2 separate regions of the Homo sapiens genome follow, and region 2 is linked to region 1. Evidence: promoter capture Hi-C in 16 types of primary human blood cells and fetal thymus (Javierre and others, 2016). All regions are on one chromosome and are shown on one strand. Each heading gives the region's core, a stretch centred on a gene start or on the middle of the fragment in contact. The rest is flanking DNA. Distances are from core to core; before and after follow the strand shown.

What was found. The method cuts DNA at HindIII sites, captures the fragments that hold promoters and counts their contacts. A CHiCAGO score of 5 or more calls a contact.
Region 2: a fragment that was not itself captured here is called in contact with the fragment with the promoter of ZC3H15 in region 1 in 1 of 17 cell types (M1 macrophages); the score reaches 6.5 in M1 macrophages.

What each region holds. Positions count from the first base shown.
Region 1 is chr2:186,484,430-186,487,768 of GRCh38, reverse strand. It overlaps ZC3H15 (zinc finger CCCH-type containing 15), which reads right to left and starts at 1,509. Exons shown (of 10, transcript NM_018471.3): 1 at 1,312-1,509. The coding sequence starts at 1,386. LOC105373785 (a long non-coding RNA gene) reads left to right here and starts at 1,769. Exons shown (of 2, transcript XR_001739147.3): 1 at 1,769-1,969. RefSeq lists an enhancer at 1,400-1,879. The HindIII fragment of the contact is 12,604 bases long and covers 1-3,339 here.
Region 2 is chr2:186,664,334-186,667,672 of GRCh38, reverse strand. ITGAV (integrin subunit alpha V) reads right to left here. Exons shown (of 30, transcript NM_002210.5): 20 at 3,032-3,179; 21 at 2,455-2,547; 22 at 890-969; 23 at 443-523; 24 at 1-2. Among named protein-coding and RNA genes, the nearest start is that of FAM171B, 28 kb to the left of the region's middle. The HindIII fragment of the contact is 2,313 bases long and covers 633-2,945 here.

The DNA.
Region 1 (3,339 bases), core at 260-2,759:
CCAATCTCGAGGAAAACGACATCCCTAAAATGTCCTTGGTTTTCATAAAAGTGAATGCCATCCGATCAGCAACCCCTGAAATTTACCTAAGTGCCACGAATCCAGATTGTTCAAATAAGGTAATAGAAAACACAGATGTGAAGGTAATATTTTGTTTTTAAGTGTCTGGCTATAGTACTTCATGACAGTTTTAAACTGTACAAATTGGCAATAAGAATACCAGTTCTCCTCCAAAGTTGGAACCTGGCCAAGTATAGCAAAATTCTTAAGCATTTTCTTAAATCCAATGAGCAGACTTTACACCTTATGCGGTAAAATGGTCATGGCTTTTTCTAATTATATCCAAAGTACAAGAGGTCCTATTTAATTATGAGGAGGATTAATAGCAGAAATCGAGGGAAGAAATACCTCGTTGGGGTCTGTATGGTATGTTTACGTAATGTCAAATATGGTTCATCTTTTAAGGAAACTCAATTCAGTTGTTGGAAAACAAGTGCACAACATGTAAGAACGTCAATAGCGTTCCTTGGCCATTAAAGGGCTACAGGCTCAATGTGTTAAACGAATATATATACACACACATATATACACATATACACACACATAGATGTATACATATATACACGCGCACACACACACATATATCTCAAACTGGGTTACGGGACTTCACACAATTAGTGACACTGAAACCTAATCTCTTTTAAGGCGTTATCCTATTTAATCCACTTCAGAATGTAAGTACCAAGCTCTGCGTTCAAGACCCTGGGTTGTGACGGAAAGTCCTTCCATTCTTTATGGGACTTTAAACATTTCAGAGGTGGATCGAAAAAGCCACCAAGTCGTAATTTGTTGGTTCAAAAGAACTAACAGTACCATCCCTGGGTGACGGGTAAAGAAATAACGAACACAAAGACTCGTCATGAGTCGGTCTTCCAGAAAGACGCTGGCCCGAGACCGTTCAGCGTATTTCTTCACACATAACCTTGGAAAATCTCCTCAATTCTGAGAGGACTAGCGAAGGATAAAACCCTGTGCCAGTCCCGAGGGGTCATTTCGCACCCGGGTGCATGGGTGGGTGAACACGGGCGTGTGGGCGGAGAGGCAAAGCCCAGGTGCGGGGGCGCCAGCAGCGTCACTATAGTAATGAGAGAGCTAGCGTCATCAGGGGCTGGAGAAGGGGCAGTGGGCCACACAGGCCTAAGGGAGGAACACGTGGCCCGAGGAAGCGAGCCGGCTCCCAGGGAAGCCCGGAGCGGGGAAGTGGCTTTCCGGAGGGCTCGCGGCGTGAGTGGGGGAGGGGTGGGTACTCACTTCGATAATCTTCTCCTTCTTTTTTTGCTCCGCCTTTTTGCTGCCCCCGGCCTGAGCCTGTTTCTTGGGGGGCATTGCGGAGACAGATGGCACCGGCCAGACTTACGCGCAGCTGAATACCGTCAGGGGTTCTGGCCCTGCGGCAGGACGAGGAGGAAGACCGGGGCCTCACTCGCCGCACCGCACGGAAAGCGAGTCGCTCATTGGCCCCGCAAACGCGGCCTTTGCGACAGGTCGATGTCGCAGAGCATAGTGGGTAGCGAGGAGCGGCTCCCGGAAGCGGAGCTGCGCGTGCGCGCCCACTGCGTCCCACTAGGAGGGGGCAGGGACGGGACGTGGGAAAATGACTACGCGTCACTCGTGATGTCGCGCATCCGATAGGCCCTTTTCAGATGGCAAAAGGCCTGAGGGTGAATCTGGGCGAGCTGGTTGAGTCCATGCGTTTGTGCTTCCTCTCAGTCCACTTTCGCTTACGATGGGGCGACTCTTGTCCATCGTCACCTCACCGGGAAACTTTTCCTGCCGGGCCAGTTAATGGTCCCCTGTACCATCCCCATCCTGAGTGACTACTAAGCAGCCGCAGCGACTCGGGGTTGCTCCGTGACCACGTTACTCAGTTAACCTTCTTGTTCCCTGGAGAGGCGGAGCTGAATGGCCCGTGAGTGTCGCGTGCTTCAGATTCCTGCGAAGGATTATTTAAAAAATGGAAAAAGTTAACTTTCATTTGCAGGGTCCCTTTCATTTGAAGAGCATCTGAGATGGCGTCCCAGATAAGGAGGCACTTGAACTCCTTAGAAGTACTGTATTAAGTTATTTTGAGACTTTAGGAGAGTGCCTAGGTGATTCCTAAAAATTCCTTTATAACGTGAAAGTAACCAAACTTAGTTAGAACTTAGTTTAAGTGCTTGGTAGCTCCAGAAATTCCTTGGCACATTACACACACTATTTCATTTAGTTATCACAACGACACTTAGGTGGGAGTTGTTACTGTTTTCGTTTTATAGATGAAGCAGAGAAAGGAAGAAAGATGCCCAAAGTTATATTAAGGACAGAGCCAGCAATTGTAATCTTGGCAGTCCGGCTTCAGCCTATATGCCTATTACCTAACATTACAAACTTAGATCCTGTTTGAAAAGGTACTTGAATGATGAATGGGACCCATTGATATTTGTACAAACGAAAATACTATTTTTTAAAAATGTACAATGCTTAGCTGTTATTTTTTAAAATGATTATTGTTTAAACTATTTCTGTTAAGAAGCATTGTGGAACCAAGAATCATCTTTATAGATAAAAGTTTTTTTATCTTTTTCATTAATTTGAATAGGGAGAAAACGATAAGCCCCCCTACTTAGTCAAATTGATTATTTGCTTAGTAATTTTCTACGTAAGATAATGTCAAGGAACCCCAAGTATGTTTTGTGTGTGTATGTGTGTGTGTAGAAGAAATGTGATAGCTACTAAAAAGAATTGTGTCGAGAATGGCAGGTGTATGTTGACACACTTTTTTTCATTTGGGCTCATATTGGCAGGTTAATGGGCTCCCCCCCTTTTACATATTTTCATCTTTATTTTTTGTAATTGTCATAGTTCTTGTCAGAGGATGGAGGGATGCAGCCAGCCCCCTCTTTACTCAGTATTATTATCCATTTGATTATTTGGGGATCGTCTCCTTTGAGACTTTGTTTGCATATGGAATGTAGTTGTCTTAACTTCCTACTTTTAGTGCCCCAAAGATGCCCTTTGGGCCTTTGATTTTGAGTAATTTTACTGATTATTATTATGAGGCAAATGAATTATAAGTAACAAATATGGGGAAGTTACAAAGAATCTAGAGTCTCATAATGTTATGATAATGGCTCCAGTTTCATGGTTCATAACTTCTTCTGTCTCCTGACCTTTGCTTTCGGTTTTTTCCTCTGAAGTGTAGCCCAGGTAGAGAACAAAGATCCTTTCTTGCCTCAAGTGGAAAATACACATTTCTGAATATAGTACATGCTCTTATAGCACTCTCCCTCGTACACTATT
Region 2 (3,339 bases), core at 540-3,039, 180 kb before region 1:
CTCTAAACAATGACCAAAGAAAACCTACCATGAATATCAAAATGATATAGTCAGTTCATTTTCAAAAGTACCCCATATTCATTACTCAAATAAATAAAATTAGATTTAATTTTAAAAAATACTTTAAAAGAAAACTAATGAACACACACATGCACAAAAACTGCTCTTATGAAATGTACACGTAACAGGTGAATTGACAATTTGTGTAAAAGTTCAACAAAATTATTTTGTGCATGTTGTTGCCATGTCTTGTTCCTTTTGAGGATCACCCAGTATTGGGGGTTTGGAACATACCTAGGATTTTATTTCTACAGAAGCTAATGCCCTAGTAAAACCACCACTAAACATGCAGGGTCTATTGTCCAGAAAAGGCTAAGGCCTGACAGTTACCTTTAAAAAGCAATCATGAGAATGAGATACTCAACTAAGTATTCATACTGACCCTCTTATCTCAACTGCAGCTAAAACAGCAAGATCAACTTTGTGAGATACAACTGGGCTTACTTTGTCAAATAGATTTGAGCTGAAAAAGAAAAAAAAAAACTTAAAAATGAATTATGCATAACAACCAAGAACATACAGAGGCAAACCCAGTGAAACTAAAAATTAACAAACGAAACAAGTGTAAAGCTTATACCTCAAAATAGTTATTTTCATTAACACTTAATTCCAAGAAGATGAACATTTTCTTTCTGGATTTTAAATTTTGTTTTACAAACTCAAATCTGACAATAAAATTATTCTTATAATGTAAATATTGATTTTAAAATGCTATAGTCAAGCAATAAAATTTAATCTGCTACTTTATATTTAAAGTATATTACATAGTATATTTACAACAAATAATATTTATTTGATAGTTATAAGTGAATATAAGTTGTTTTCATACCTTTGGATTTGTAAGTCAAATTTCACAGAAGTATCCATCTCTGACTGCTGGTGCACACTGAAACGAAGACCAGCTAAGAGCTAAAGGAGAGAGGAAAAGATAGTAATGCTAGTCAATGTCTAATTAGCAAAATTTCAAATCCAATGTCTAAATAAAAAATAATGTTCTAAAATGGGGTTTTTCTGAGCTTACAATAAAACTGAACAAAGATAACTAAATCTTATTTTCTATCAAACCTATTTTACTTAATATACCTGGACCAATCCATAAGAGAGCCTATTTAACAACAATTATTAATCATAATTATACCTCCTTATAATACTAACCATCTTTCTAAAAAGTGCAAAAGTAAATGTTTGTTGATCCAGTGAAAGTCTAGCAACTGGGTACAATAATTTGATAACACGAAGCTAACCACCAAAGTATGTGCTGTGTTCATAGGCCAGGAAAGAAGAAATGGATGGTTTACTAGAGTAAGGGAACATGGCTAAAGAAGGCATGAGTAGGGCCACAACCAGAATTTCTCCACACACCTCTCATAACACTCCCAACACCAAATATCCTAATTCCTGCAGGCAGAAAATTGGTAGATTTTAAATAAAACAATTGAACCACCAGGTACAAAAAAGAAGGCTTCTTGGGGATCACACAAATGACATATAAAAACAGTACTTCCTGGGTTCTGCCTCCCACTCCACAAAACCTGGAGCTGGCTACTTGTAATAAGCAGAAACTATATAATAACCAGAAAGTTAGAGAGAATGAGAATATGAGAAAATAAAAGGCATGCTCATTGTTAATAAAACATTGAATACACGTGAAAAACTGAACTTAGGGTAATTTGTTCAAGTTCTCATCCCTAAGATACCATACATCTAGAAATACTAATGACTTGTAATAGAAAACATACTAAAGAAATATGGAATATTTAGACCTGTATTACCACAGATCTTCAAAGTACCAGTATCAATAAGTCATTAAATAAATTCTATTGAAAAAGTCACACAGCATATGCTGCCATTTTGTCCTTGCTACTAGAAATTCTACAAGGTATATTTTGTTTACTTTTTAGAGGATTCGGAAAGCAAGCCATTGGCTGCTTCTTTTCAAGCTCCTGGGCACCCTGCTCCACCATCTGAAGGGGAGCCTGATTTAACTGACCTTCACTTTGATCCTCTGTGTGGGGCCTGTGATGGAATCTAGCTCACCTAGGATTGACAGTCTTGGTAGTTGCCAGAGTAGCTTTTCAGGATCCATTAAGGCATCAGTGTAAAATAGCAAAAATTATTATTTCAGTCCTTAGTTTAAACCACGTTCTCATCCATTCACTAAAGTGAAGGAGGCATAAAGAGCAGCTGATTGCAAACCGTGTAGGAGCACAACCAATTGTTTTCGTATCTTAGTTAAAACTAAGCAAAACTCTGCTAATCATTTAACTATTATATCGAAACCAATTTAAGGACATTGTTTTGAAGTGTTTATTTTTAAAAATTACTATGAGCCCAGACAACAATATGCTTTTCTATTTGCCAGGGAGAAAAATCCGTTTAATTAAATTGTCTTACTTGAGTTCCAGCCTTCATTGGGTTTCCAAGGTCACATACCACCTGGCGAGTTTGGTTTTCTGTCTTAAATGCACAGGAAAGTCTTGCTAAGGCCTTTGATAGACCAAAAAAAAAAAAAAAAATGGATATGAAAGGAAATAAAGTATCACGCAGTTGGATATTTCAGTTTCTTGTCCTAAGCAAATAAATCTAGTTGAGCAAACCAGGAGGTAAGGAAAAAGCCAGAATTGGGTACAATTGCCACATGGAAATGCAGAAGTGTTTCTGAAAGATCCCTAGAGGACTACCATACAAAACCATACAGCCTCTGACAAATAATTTGATGGACAGGCTTAGACACTTTATCTATCTAACCTTGTTTCCAGGCACTTAGCTTGCAATTCTAAAAATGTCATATCAATGCATTATGCAAAGTATTAGGCTTAAAAGGAATTATGTAAGATAGGCACTCCATTGTCTATCAATTTAGCCTTAGGTAGAATAGCTAAGCTTGTGCTTCACTAAATAGGGGAACAGCTCATTAATGTTAATAAGATCCGTGAGTGCATTTCAATTTTTAAAGAGGCAGCCTGCTTACTTCATTGTTTCGGACAACCCCGATGAAATCAGCCTGCAGTGGAATGGAAACGATGAGCTCAGCTTCGTAGGCACCTTCTCCTTGATTCTGAGCCTTAACAATCAATGTCAGAGGGTTGTCATCCCCAATATAGATCTTCTTTTGATCACTACAAGTTAACAATACAAATCCAGACTGAGAAAAAAAGACTACATGGGGAAAGTATGACTGTTCAAAGAAAGAAGAGATAAATACACAGCACTGACATGTTCAACAGTGTCTCAAGGTATTTTAAGACTACTTCACAGCTTGATAGAAAACAGAAAATA